Linked DNA regions of Homo sapiens: all the other regions are linked to region 1. Evidence: promoter capture Hi-C in 16 types of primary human blood cells and fetal thymus (Javierre and others, 2016). All regions are on one chromosome and are shown on one strand. The core of a region is centred on a gene start or on the middle of the fragment in contact, and the rest is flanking DNA. Distances in the headings are between cores, read along the strand shown.

The links. Contacts are between HindIII fragments. The CHiCAGO score rates a contact against its expected background, and 5 or more counts as called.
Region 2: a contact is called between the fragment with the promoter of SPATA21 here and the fragment with the promoter of CLCNKB in region 1, in 4 of 17 cell types (endothelial precursors, M1 macrophages, monocytes and 1 more). The highest score is 8.2, in endothelial precursors.
Region 3: a contact is called between the fragment with the promoter of RSC1A1 here and the fragment with the promoter of CLCNKB in region 1, in 13 of 17 cell types (non-activated CD4 T cells, activated CD4 T cells, naive CD8 T cells and 10 more). The highest score is 10.2, in non-activated CD4 T cells.
Region 4: a contact is called between the fragment with the promoter of PLEKHM2 here and the fragment with the promoter of CLCNKB in region 1, in 13 of 17 cell types (M0 macrophages, neutrophils, endothelial precursors and 10 more). The highest score is 10.6, in M0 macrophages.
Region 5: a contact is called between the fragment with the promoter of SLC25A34 here and the fragment with the promoter of CLCNKB in region 1, in 4 of 17 cell types (erythroblasts, naive CD8 T cells, neutrophils and 1 more). The highest score is 10.4, in erythroblasts.

What each region holds. Positions count from the first base shown.
Region 1 is chr1:16,042,471-16,045,068 of GRCh38, forward strand. It overlaps CLCNKB (chloride voltage-gated channel Kb), which reads left to right and starts at 1,312. Exons shown (of 20, transcript NM_000085.5): 1 at 1,312-1,410; 2 at 2,016-2,122. The coding sequence starts at 2,023. The HindIII fragment of the contact is 13,884 bases long and covers 1-2,598 here.
Region 2 is chr1:16,436,112-16,438,709 of GRCh38, forward strand. SPATA21 (spermatogenesis associated 21) reads right to left here and starts at 1,313. Exons shown (of 13, transcript NM_198546.1): 1 at 1,017-1,313. RefSeq lists a silencer at 2,043-2,213. The HindIII fragment of the contact is 2,188 bases long and covers 977-2,598 here.
Region 3 is chr1:15,658,403-15,661,000 of GRCh38, forward strand. It overlaps RSC1A1 (regulator of solute carriers 1), which reads left to right and starts at 1,311. Exons shown (of 1, transcript NM_006511.3): 1 at 1,311-2,598. The coding sequence starts at 1,467. It overlaps DDI2 (DDI proteasomal shuttling factor 2), which reads left to right. Exons shown (of 10, transcript NM_032341.5): 10 at 1,435-2,598. The HindIII fragment of the contact is 1,265 bases long and covers 747-2,011 here.
Region 4 is chr1:15,683,037-15,685,634 of GRCh38, forward strand. It overlaps PLEKHM2 (pleckstrin homology and RUN domain containing M2), which reads left to right and starts at 1,284. Exons shown (of 20, transcript NM_015164.4): 1 at 1,284-1,582. The coding sequence starts at 1,523. RefSeq lists silencers at 1,138-1,217, 1,308-1,387, 1,908-1,977 and an enhancer at 2,208-2,267. The HindIII fragment of the contact is 15,543 bases long and covers 1-2,598 here.
Region 5 is chr1:15,734,910-15,737,507 of GRCh38, forward strand. It overlaps SLC25A34 (solute carrier family 25 member 34), which reads left to right and starts at 1,349. Exons shown (of 5, transcript NM_207348.3): 1 at 1,349-1,954. The coding sequence starts at 1,577. RefSeq lists enhancers at 1-448, 449-1,215. The HindIII fragment of the contact is 4,526 bases long and covers 1-2,598 here.

The DNA.
Region 1 (2,598 bases), core at 62-2,561:
TCGGGTTCATGCAGAGCGGCAACCCCCATCCCACCTCCCACAACACACACCTTCAATTTTGATTTGACTTGCCTGGCATCTAGGGGCAAAGGGTGGCCCAGGGTCCCAGATTTTAACAATCATCCAAGGGCCATCATGTTATTCAGAGAGTGGCTTTGTCTGGGTAGGACTGGAGGCAATTGCCCCCAACATCTTGCCCCAAAGTGGCATCAGACACAACTCTTCTGTTCTGTGCCCAAACCATTGCCCTGGTTCAGCCTCAGGAGCTGGAGGAGCTTTGGGCAGGGGAAGAGCTGCACAGTGTGGGGCTGGGTTCAGCCTCTGCTGTGTGACCTTGGATGAGTGACTCACCTCTCTGACCATCTACAAAATGGCGAGGCTCTCCCCATTCACAGGGTGTGGGGAGGAGGACTTGAGCTGCGGATGTGACGCTTCTGACACGTTGCAGGCACACGGCACGTGCTTGTTCCTCGCCATGTCCCCTCACACCTGTGCTGCCATCCTCTGTTGGGGTGGGACAAACTCTGTGGAATTACCCAGAAGTCCCCACCAGAGCCGCTGGCCCTTGGACGTGTGCTTTGAGAGGCATTTCCTGAGCCTGGAGGGTCTGGACACAGGATCAAGTCTGAGTTCCTGACCCCAATTCACTGCCTTGCCCCAGGTGTCGGCCTCCTCGCCAGCCCTGGACAAGATGGGTCATCAGGATGGGACCGTGTGGCACAGCCTGCGGGCTTTGGAGCCAGGCAAACCTGGGCTGGGAATCCTGGCGCTGCCTCGGCCTCCGTGATCTTAGACGGGCAGCCCCACCTCCCTGAGACACCATTTCTCTACAACGGGATCACGCTGCCTGCCTCGTGGGATTTCCGTGGGCACTCAGGGTAATTAATCTAGGGGAAGGCTGACTCTCTACCTGGCACACAGGGAGGCTGTGGTCATGCTGGCCCCACTCACCTTTGCCGGCCTGCTTTCTCCTTCTCTGCCCAGCCTCCTCCCCTCTCCCTCTGTGCTTTTCCAAACCTTCCATGTCCAGCTCTGAGACCCCTGGACCCTGAGCCTCAGCCTTGGCAGATGACCCCTCTCTGTCCTGCTGTGTGCGTGAGCTCCCCCTTCCCAGCCCCCGTCCAGCAGCACCCAGGAGCCTGAGTACAGCTGGGCACCACCCTCTGTGCAGCTATGGTGGGTGGGGAGGCTCCTGTTCCCCTCCCTGTTGGCAGCTCTGCTCTGCTCTGCTCCGGCCTGGGCAGTTCTGATCGGTTTTCAAGGACATTCTAAGTGTTCGCCATAAACCCTGGGCCCAGGCGGGAAAGGGGGGAGGATGTTGATTGTTGGAACACACACCTGTCCAGGTGCAGGGGAGCTGGAGGCTCTGTGAGAGGAGGGCCAGCTCAGCCACAGCAGGAGGACTGACAGGTGAGGGGTCGCTGCAAGATGCTGGGGCCTGCCAGGGCCAGACAGGCAGGGCGGGGGGGGGGGGGTGGTAAGGGCAGGAGCCAGCACCTCACTTTGGCCCTGGTGGGATCTTCTTCTGGGCCTGGGGTTTTGCTGCCTCTGTGGCCTGAGCTGGGGTCAGGGGTGCTCATAGGTGGACAGGGAGAGTCAGAGCCATCCATGGGACTCTGCAGTGAGAGTGTCACAGCCCTGGGCAGAGACTGCTCCCAGCAGTGGAAGCGCCAAGTGACCCAGGAGGGTGGGAGCGGCTGCCACCGAAGGGGAAGGGGCTCTGAGCAGGGCTTGGGCTCCGGCCTGTGCCCAGTCTGCTGCTGGACACAGGGGGACACCTAGGAATCCCACCCCCATCCCACACAATGACACACACAGGCACACACCCTCAGTGACGGAAACTCAGGGATGAAGGCACACACAGACCTAGTGTGATAACTTCACATACACACACACACACACACACACGCACAATCTTTCCTCTTCATGGGTGGGGAGAGCACTGGAAGGGCCTAGAGGCAGTGCGAGGACGTGCAGCAGCTCACCGCGGTCCCTCCCTCTATCCGCTTCTCCAGGGGCCTGATGGAGGAGTTTGTGGGGCTGCGTGAAGGCTCCTCAGGGAACCCTGTGACTCTGCAGGAGCTGTGGGGCCCCTGTCCCCGCATCCGCCGAGGCATCCGAGGTGAGAGCCAGGTCCTCTTCCCTTCCCCCTGGAGGACCACTCAGGACATCATTCCTGCCCAGCTCCCACCCCACCTCCCTGCCCAGGAACCACCCTCCTCCTGGCATTTGTCCAGGACATGACTGCCCAAAGTCTCCTGGGTGGCAGGGAGGGAAGGGGTCTGTCTGTCCAGCTGTCTGTGGGTCAGATGGGCCGGGCATCTGCCCTCTGCCTTTCGGGAGATACAGCCCAAGGCCTGGTCACTGTGCCCATCTTCCACCCAGGCCTCTCCCTCACCTACCTGTGCCAATGAGGGGACGTGGGGGTTAGCTGCTGGGACAGCTGGGGCCACAGCAAGGGGCTGGGGCAGCCTACACTTGGCACCTTTCCTTGGAGCCCCATGTGCTTTGTTCACTTTGAGACCTGACTGTCCCCTCAGCTACGGGGCAGAGCAAGTAGGGACCACAGAAGGAGGCTGACTGCAACCCCAGGGGCTG
Region 2 (2,598 bases), core at 63-2,562, 390 kb after region 1:
TGTGGTGGTGCGTGCCTGTAATCCCAGCACTTTGGGAGGCCGAGGCGGGCAGATCACCTGAGGTTGGGAGTTTGAGACCAGCCTGACCAACATGGAGAAACCCCGTCTCTACTAAAAGTACAGAATTAGCCGGGCATGGTGGCACATGCCTGTAATCCCAGCTAGTCAGGAGGCTGAGGCAGGAGAATTGCTTGAACCTGGCAGGTGGAGGGTTGCAGTGAGCCGAGATCGCACCATTGCACTCCAGCCTAGATGACAGGGTGAGACTCTGTCTCAAAAAAAAAAAAAAAAAATACAGATAGGGTGCAGTGTATACTGCTCAGGTGATGGGTGGACCAAAATCTTACAAATCACCACTAAAGAACCTACTCATGCAGGGCAAGGTGGCTCACGCCTGTAATCCCAGAACTTTGGGATGCCAAGGGGGGCAGATCACTCGAGGTCAGGAGTTTGAGATCACCCTGGCTAACATGGTGAAATCCTGTTTCTACTAAAAATACAAAAATTAGCTGGGCATGGTGGTGCCTGCCTGTAATCCTAGGTACTTGGGAGGCTGAGGCAGGAGAATCGCTTGAACCTGGGAGATGGAGGTTGCAGTGAGCAGAGACTGCACCACTACACGCCAGCCTGGGCAACAGAGCAAGACTCCGTCTCAAAAAAAATTACTAATGTAAACAAAAAAAAAACACCAAAAAACAAAAACCTTAGTCATGTAGCCAAATACCACCTGTACCCCAATAACCTATGGAAAAACAAATAAATAAATAAATAAATAAAAAGTTTTGAAATCAGGAAGTGTGAGTCCTCCAACTTTGTTCTTTTTCAAAATTCTTTGGGTATTGAGTGCCCCTTTTATAAGTGGTTTCCTCATCTGAAAAATGGGAGAATTTCTCTTGGAAATATCTATGATGGCAGGAAAATACAGCAGATAAAGATAAGTGGCATATCATATATATGTCTGGAGGCCGTCAGGGAAAGCTTGTTCACCTTACACCCCACCTTGGCCCTGCACCTACCAGAAATCAGCTGGATGAGTCACAGTGAGATTTTCCACCCCTGCTCACCGCCTTGCACATAGGATGGGCTCTGTCTGAGCCTATACTTTGCCTGTTGGCTTGAATTGGATTTGTTTGGTATACAGGGCAGTTAAACTGGGAATAGATGGCAGGTCCAATTATTCTCAGCAGCAGAGGTTTAGGAATGCATTTCAGGAATATCCAGCCATGTGGTTAGGGTTTGAGAATAAGGCAAGGGGCTGTGTGACCTCCAACTACTGGACAGTGTCATTTCCCCCAGCTTGTCACTGGTTCAGTGGCCCCCATTACACAATGAAGATAACAATCGTTGCCTTGCCAACCTCACAGTGATTATTGGGCCAGGGTACTCTCTCCCAGAAAGCCTTCCCTGACTCTCCCCAGACTGTGTGGGGTTTCTTCTCTTTGCTCCCACAGGCCCCTGTGAATTTGCTTCATTACAGTACCTTTCATTCTGCTTTGCCAATGACTGCTTTTCTCTCTGTCTCCTCCAGTCTGCGAGCTCCAGGATGGTAGGAGCTGGATTGGCCACATCCCAGTGACCCCAGTACTCAGCACCTGGCATAGGGTATGTGCTCGATGCCTGTCTTTGTTAGACTGAACAGAACTGAAAGTGCTCTGAATGGCTGGGTGCGGTGGCTCACACCTGTAATCCCAGCACTTTGGGAGGCCGAGGTGGGTGGATCACTTGAGGTCGAGTTATAGACCAGCCTGGCCAACATGGTGAAACCCCGTCTCTACTAAAAATACAAAAATTAGCCAGGCATGGTGGCGCATGCCTGTAATCCCAGCTACTTAGGAGGCTGAGGCACGAGAATCACTTGAACCTGGGAGGCAGAAGTTGCAGTGAGCTGAGATCATGCCACTGTCTTCCAGCCTGGGTGGTAGAGTGAGACTTAGTCTCAAAAAAAAAAAAATTGGAAAATAAGGCCAGGTATGGTGGCTCATGCCTATAATCCTAGCACTTTGGAAGGCTGAGGCAGGAGGATCTCTTGAAGACAGGAATTCAAGACCAGCCTGGGCAACATAGCAAGACCCCCGTCTCTACAAAAAGTAAGAAAAATAGCAGGGTAGGGTGGTGTGTGCCTGTAGGCCCAGCTACTCAAAAGGTTGAGGCAGGAGGATCCCTTGAGCCCGGGAATTTGAGGCTGCAGTGAGTGATGATCGCACCATTGCACTCCAGTGTGGGGTGACAGAGAGAGAAAGAAAGAGAGAGACCCTGTCTAAAAAAAAAAAAAAAAAGAAAAGAAAAAGAAAAGAAAAGAAAAGAAAAATAACCAATATTTGCAAAAATGTGAAGAAATTGAAACCCTTGTGAACGTAAATGGTGCTGCTGCTGTGGAAGACAGTTTGGAGGCTCCTCAAAAAGGTGAGCAAGGCCGGACATGGTGGTTCACACCTGTAGTCCCAGCTACTTGGGAGGCTGAGTTGGGAGGATCACTTGAGCCTGGGAGGTTGAGGCTGCAGTGAGCCATGATCATGCCAGTGCTTTCCAGCCTGGGCAACAGAGTGAGATGCTGTTTCAAACAAAACAAAACAAAACAAAACCACTAAACATAGCATT
Region 3 (2,598 bases), core at 61-2,560, 380 kb before region 1:
GCCTCCCAAAGTGCTGGGATTACAGGCATGAGCCACTGTGCCCAGCCCTTTTTGATTTTTAATTAAAGATCTTACAATGGTCGGGTGCGGTGGCTCTTGCCTGTAATCCAAGCACTTTGGGAGGCTGAGGCGGGCGGATCACCTGAGGTCAAGAGTTTGAGACCACCCTGACCAACGTGGAGAAACCTCATCTCTACTAAAAATGCAAAATTAGTCGGGTGTGTGGCGCATGCATGTAATCCCAGCTACTCTGAGGCAGGAGAATCGCTTGGACCCGGGAGGCGGAGGTTGCGGTGAGCTCAGATGGCGCCATTGTACTCCTGTCTGGGCAACAAGAGCAAAACACAGTCTTAAAAAAAAAAAAAAATTCTTACACTTACATGCGTAGAGGTCAATTTTTAACTGGATTGGTGGCAAAAGAAGAGCTGGAAATGATGTTTAATGATACTATGATGCTTACACTGAGCCGTCTTGTTTGGGTGGTCTAAGGTAGCAGTGAATCTAAATAGTCATTGCCAGTTGAAAAACTATTAATGAACCATCTCCCTCCACATTCCCCTTTCTTTAAAACATTTAAATATTCTTAACTTAGTTGCACACTATTGATGTGATAAAAACTTATAAGCCTTTTAAGTTTAGAGTTGTATTATTTGGTAGGATGATGATTGTGATTTAATCTGCTGATCATTAGTTTACTTTTGTTTTCTGAGTCAGATGCTCACCCAGTTTTACCATGATTTTTGGAAAGCTTGGCTAGAAATAAAATAGAACATTTGCTTCTCTGTCCCCAAGCATTATGTTATTTCTTATTTCTCTTTATAATTCCCTCTCTGTCCAGGTATACCTGGTTTAAGACTTCTCATTTGTAACCTCAGTGTTCACATTTGAAACAAGAAAAGTGCATTAACATGAGAATCATTCTGGTGCAAAGATTCTCAGGATTTGTAATATCCTTAAGAATCACCCAAGGAGCTTATTGAAAATGCACATTCCTGGATTTACTCTCAAGTATGGTACCCCAGGGTCTGCATACTTCACAAGCGTCCCTGGTGGTTTTAGGGCAAGTGGTGAAAAAAGTACACTTGGAGAAACTATTCTAGAGTTGTAGACTAGACTAGGGAATAAAGAAACATAAATGTCCTTCATTCCTGAGCACTAACCCCGCCATTATGTGAATGCATATTAATGGATACTTAATCACATTGAATTACAGTATGCAGATTTTATTAAGAACATGTCTACCTCTTATTCTGATGCTGTGAATGTCTACCACAATGAGAAAGTAATTTTAAAATCATTTCTATTTGTGTAAGAGAAACCCGAGTTTGAGGACCTTATTTTATTCTACGCTGTTTAGATTTGTATCCTCTGGTAATTTAGTGGCATTAGTCACCTGCTAATTAATCTTTTTCCTTTCCCCTGTGTTCCATATAGAGAAAAGTGGTAAAGAATCTACCTCACTGGGAATGTCATCATTACCAACTTCAGATGGGTTTAACCATCCCGCCCGTTCTTCAGGACAGAGTCCTGATGTTGGTAATCCTATGAGTCTTGCTCGCTCTGTCTCTGCTTCAGTCTGCCCTATCAAGCCCAGTGACTCAGATCGCATTGAACCTAAAGCTGTGAAGGCTTTGAAGGCTTCAGCTGAATTCCAGCTAAACTCTGAAAAGAAAGAACATCTTTCTTTACAAGATCTTTCTGATCATGCTTCCTCAGCAGACCATGCTCCAACAGACCAGAGTCCAGCTATGCCTATGCAGAATTCATCCGAAGAAATAACTGTTGCAGGTAATCTGGAGAAATCTGCTGAAAGAAGCACCCAGGGCCTCAAATTTCATCTCCATACAAGACAGGAAGCTAGTTTATCTGTCACATCTACTAGGATGCATGAACCACAGATGTTTCTAGGTGAAAAGGATTGGCATCCAGAAAATCAGAACCTGAGTCAAGTGAGTGACCCTCAGCAGCACGAAGAACCAGGGAATGAACAGTATGAGGTTGCACAACAAAAAGCTTCACATGACCAAGAATATCTTTGTAACATAGGGGACCTTGAGCTTCCTGAAGAAAGGCAACAGAATCAACACAAAATTGTTGATTTGGAAGCTACGATGAAAGGAAATGGGCTCCCACAGAATGTGGATCCTCCAAGTGCGAAGAAAAGTATTCCATCTTCAGAATGCAGTGGCTGCTCAAATTCAGAAACATTTATGGAAATCGATACAGCTCAACAGTCCCTAGTTACTTTGCTTAATTCAACAGGCAGGCAGAATGCCAATGTCAAGAACATTGGTGCATTGGATCTCACTTTAGATAATCCCTTGATGGAAGTAGAAACATCAAAATGTAACCCTTCATCTGAAATTTTGAATGATTCCATTTCCACTCAGGATTTACAGCCCCCAGAAACTAATGTTGAAATACCTGGAACAAATAAAGAATATGGCCATTACTCCTCTCCAAGTCTCTGTGGCAGTTGTCAGCCTTCTGTGGAGTCAGCAGAAGAATCTTGCCCGTCTATAACGGCAGCCTTGAAAGAACTTCATGAACTTTTGGTTGTTAGCAGTAAACCAGCTTCAGAAAATACATCTGAAGAAG
Region 4 (2,598 bases), core at 34-2,533, 360 kb before region 1:
TGGGATACGTGGGGCTGAAGAAGAGGGATAAGGATAAGGAGTGGGAATGGGGCATTGGGGCTGAAGGTGAGGAGGGTGTGTTTTGGGGGTGGGGAGGAACACCAGGGACCTCAAATGTAGGACTGGGCCTTGAGGGTGAGGCACTGAGGAGGGGAGGCTGTGGAGGGCCAGGGGGCCCAGGGAGGGTCTAGGGCTGGGGACTGGAGTCTAGGCTGACCCGGTGGGGGTGCTGGGTCCTCCAGGCTGCGAAAGCCAGGGGGCCTGGGTCTGCACATTGAGGGGGTGGCTGGGCTAAGGAAGGGGAGGAAGATAAGTGGGGCTTGCAGGCTAAGAGGGTCTTGGGGTCCCTGGCCAGAGTTAGTGGGGTGCACTGGGGTCTCCAAGGAGGGGTCTGTGGACTAAAGAGGGCCGGCGGGAGGGGGCCCAGGGTCTGTGGGTGTCTCGAGTCTCTGAGGAGGGCCGGGGTCTCAGGGTCTGTGGGGGTCTCTGGCCTGTGGGGTCGGAGTCTCCAGAGTCCTTGGGGCCTGTGGGAGTCTCTGGGGTTTTGTGGGGGGATCCTGTGGGCTGAGGAGGGCTGTGGGGAGGGTCTCAGGGTCTCTGGGGAGGGCCAGTGCCTCGGGGTCTTTGGGGGTCTCTGAGGAGGGCTGGGGGCCCAGGGTCTGTGGGGGTCCCCAGCAGGTGGGGTTGGGGTCTCCGGAGTCCCTGGAGTCTGAGGGTGTCTCTGAGGTCCCAGGGGGGAGTCTATGGCCTGAGGGCTGAGGGGGAGGGTCTCCAGGGTCTCTGAGGAGGGCCGGTGTCCCGGGCAGGCGGGGTCGGGGTCTCCGGAGTTCCTGGGGTCTGAGGGTGTCTCTGGGGTCCCTGAGGGAATCTGTGGGCTGACGAGGCCTGGGGGAGGGTCTCCGAGGAGGGCCGGGGTCCCAGGGTCTGTGGGGGTCTCTGGCAGGCGGGGTCGGGGTGTCCGGAGTCCCTGGGGTCTGAGGGTGTCTCTGGGGTCCCTGAAGGAATCTGTGGGCTGAGGAGGGCTTGGGGAGGGTCTCTGAGGAGCCCCGAGGTCCCCGGCAGGCGGGGTCGAGGTCTCTGGCGTCCCTGGGGTCTGAGGGTGTCTCTGGGGTGCCGGGGAGAGTCTGTGACTTGAGGAGGGCTGGGGGCGGGTCTCGGGGTCTCTGGGGAGGGCCGCGGCCAAGGGTCTGTGCGGGTCTCCGGGTCCCCGGAGTCCCCAGGCGCAGGCGGGCCCTGGCGCCGCCCCGCCTGACATCAGTTCCTGCCGCCGCCGCCGCCGCGGCGCACAGCCCGCGGCCTCCTTCCCCGCCGGCCGCGCTCCGGAGCCTCCGGGCCGCGGTGGAGCGAGGGCCCAGGCGAGGCGAGGGCCGGGCGGCGGGCGCCGGGCCCCGCGGCCGGCACGACGGAGCCCCCGTACGGCCGGCGGCAGCGGTTGGCGGCGGCCCCCGGCCCCCGGCGCGGGAAGCGGCGGCGGGGCGGCGGCGGCGGTGGCGGTGGCGGTGGCGGCGACGGTGGCAGCGCCATGGAGCCGGGGGAGGTGAAGGACCGGATCCTGGAGAACATCTCGCTGTCGGTGAAGAAGGTGAGCGCGGCCTCCCTCCCGGCCGGGGCCCCTTCCTCGCCGCGCCCCCCACGCCCTCCGGCGGCGCTCTCCCGGGCCGGGGCCCCCCGCCCTTCCCCTCCGCGACCCGGGGGGCGACGAGCGGCCGGGAGCCCCGGGCCGGTAGAGGGGAAGCGGCGCCGCTCACGTGAGCGCCGCGGCCTCGGAGCTATTTTTAAAGAACAAAGTTGAGGTCAGCATCCTCGGAGCTTCCCCAAACCTGGCCCGGGGCCCTGCCCTCCCGGAGAGGGGTCAGCGACCCTCCGGTCCCCCACTGGGGCAGCGGCGCCCCCGGGAGCTCCTGAAGGAACCCCATGCAGCCTCCTGTGGAATCCGCTGCATCCCCGGGTCCCCCCGCCAGGCTGGCGTCGCCCAGGGTCTGGCAGTCAGGGTGGAGGCCAGTGATAAGCAACTTCACTTTCCCATGGCCTGGGTCCCGGCGACATTGCCTCTGCTCCTGGGAAGTCCCCTGAATAATCTTGCTCAAGGATGGTAGCTTTGAAGAGGTTCACTAGGGGCTTTGATTATAAGAACCTGAAGTACATGGGGATTGCATTTTGGATGCTGATCCGGGGAACCGGGTGACACCACAGACACCTTGCTGTGGGGCTTGCCGCAGTAAACATCACTGTCCCAATTCCAGGTAGAAATGAGTACATACCTGTCAAGGGCATGTATTTGTGATGAAGTTGGCATATCCGCAAAAGGGTCCGTGCTAGAAGGTAGAATCCATATTCTGACGTTTTTGGGCTGGATATAAAAATAATAATAATAAATTTAAAAGAATCCATATTCACTGAAAACCTAAATGGCCAAATCAGAATGGATTTTTCTCTCTCTCTCCCTCTCTGTGTGTGTGTTTGTGTAATTTGAATTCCTGGCTCACCAGATAGTCTCAGAAACTGAAAAAAAAAAAAAAAAAAAGAAAGAAAGAAAGAAAAAAGAGAAAGAAAATGGCTTGGGTGAGGGACTCAGCAGCTTATTTTACTTGAAGAAGC
Region 5 (2,598 bases), core at 99-2,598, 310 kb before region 1:
CACCGCTGCCGGGCGGACTCACCGTCTGCAGACCCTCAGGCCCTGGGAGTTTCTCGGCCCGACCTTTGCCCTCCGTCCTGTTCCTGTTTGCTGCAGCAGCCAGGGGAGGAGCAGCCACCAGCTCAAGCCCCAGGGCACGTCTGCACCGCCGCCCACCATCTGCAGCCCACCCCGGGGCAGGACGCTCCTGCCTCCACAGCCCCGGGGGTGAGTGCCCAAACCCAGGAGAATCCAAGCTGTCCTCGCTGCCTCTTGCTGCGCCGTCCCCTCCAGGGCTGGCCAGAGGGTGACAACCCTGCCAGGCCGGGAGCCTGAGGCCCTCAAGCCACTCAGCATTGCTGCCTCAAGGGCCTGGGAGGGAAGGGGTGGGCCCTGGGAGGTGGGTGTGGGACTCCAACTTGGGTGGTTCTGCCTCTAGTTTGGACTGGGCCTTGGGTGACTGAGGGTGGCCTGGCAGGAGAGAGCTGTCTGGGGGCAGAGGCCAAGGTGGGCATGTTGGTACCGGCCCCAGCCTGAGCAGACACACCTGACAGCTGGCCCAGGTGGCGTTCTCTTCTCAGCGGGCACAAAGGGCATCCCAGGGCAGGCCTGGCAGCAAGTCCTTACCAGCCAAGGTCACTCCTCAAGTCCTACTCACCCAGGTGCCCTGAAGTCCTGGGAGCAGCGAGGGGGGCATAGGAGCCAGAGGCAGTGGGGGTGGGGGCGAGCAGGCGATGCGGGTGCCTTTATCGGGTGCAGCACTGACCTAGGCACACTCTTCTCATCGCCAGTCCTCCACAGAACCTTCTGGAGTGGATGTCAGTATCTCCATTTTACAAATGAGAGAAACTGAAGCTCTGAGAGGAAGTGACTTGCCCAGGGGTCACACATGAGAGCCACACCTGGGATTCCAATCAGCTCCCCAGGGCTCCAGAGCCCTTCTCTACTTCTGACCCTGCTGAGCATGGGCCTATAGACGGTGGGAGCCAGACTGAAGACTTGAGTCCTGGAAAGGGGAAGTCAGTCACCAGGGGCATATCAGGGGCAGGGTGGGGCAGGGGCGGAGTTGGCCGTGTACCCCATGCCAGGGACCTCCCAGTCACTTGCCCCCTGCCTAGGGCTCTGCCAAAGCTGGACAGGCTAAGCCAGAGGCAAGGCAGGGGTGCCAGCCCTTTGCCCAGGGCCAGAGGGAGGCCAGGAGGAGGTGCCTGGGCTGGTTGGCACCTTCTCCCTATCCACGCTCTCCCTCCAGTCCCAAGTGACCTTTCCCCCAGATCCCAGGGTCCAGGCCCGCCCTCGGCTGGCAGGTGTGGGCACAGAGGCAGCTGGGATTGGTCGCAGCTGGCGGAGGCGCGTCCCAGGCTCCGGCAGACCGCTGGAACAGCTGAGCAGAGCAGGTGGACTGCTGAGATAGACCAGGGACACCAGGCAGCCACAGGCCTGTCAGACCAGGACCCTTACCCTCTAGACATGGCCTCGGTCCCCTGCAAACCCCAGCCCCGTAGCCCTGCGAGGTTACAGACAGCCTAAACGCCACCACCACAGGGCCTGTGCCGTGCCCCTGACCCGGGCACAGAAGGCCACTGGCCCGGAGGCCATGGAGACGGTGCCCCCAGCAGTGGACCTGGTGCTGGGTGCTTCTGCCTGCTGCCTGGCCTGTGTCTTCACCAACCCCCTGGAGGTGGTGAAGACGCGGCTGCAGCTGCAGGGGGAGCTGCAGGCCCGGGGCACCTACCCACGGCCCTACCATGGCTTCATAGCCTCTGTCGCTGCTGTGGCCCGAGCAGACGGGCTGTGGGGCCTGCAGAAGGGGCTGGCTGCCGGCCTTCTGTACCAAGGCCTCATGAATGGCGTTCGTTTCTACTGCTACAGCCTGGCGTGCCAGGCTGGCCTCACGCAGCAACCAGGTGGCACCGTGGTTGCGGGAGCCGTGGCGGGGGCACTGGGAGCCTTCGTGGGGAGCCCTGCTTACCTGGTGAGTGGCTTGTCTCCATCGTCCACCCTCCACCATCCCATGACCCAGCTCCCACAGGGGCCCTGCAGCCTCCAAAGGCAGGGCTCAGTGGACCTGGGTGGGGTGGGGCAGCCGGGGTGGGGCTGCTCCCTGGAACATCCTAGCCCAAGCCTGGAATCTGCCCCTTGGCCCAGGGCCTTGCTCTGATCCATGCTCCCCTGCGGTCCCTGCCCCACTGGTCCTGAGCCAGGGGAGGGGGCAGAGGGTGTCAGATGTGCTGGCTCAAATCCTGGCTTGGTTACTTCTCTTCCCGCATGGCCTCATGTACGATAAGAATAAAAGCTACCCTTGAGGGCCTCCGCCTCGTGTGCACTCTGCAGGGGGGCCTCAGGGCCACCCAAAACAAATAAAAAATTAAAAAATGTTTTGAAGAAAGCTACCCTTGGCTGGGTGCAGTGGCTCACGCCTGTAATCCCAGCACTTTGGGAGGCCGAGGCGGGCAGATCACCTGAGGTCAGGAGTTTGAGACCAGCATGGTCAACATGGTGAAACCCTGTCTCTGCTAAAAAGTACAAAAATTAGCTGGGCGTGGTGATGCATGCCTGTAATCCCAGCTACCGGGGAGGCTGAGGCAGGAGAATCACTTGAGCCCAGTTGGCAGAGCT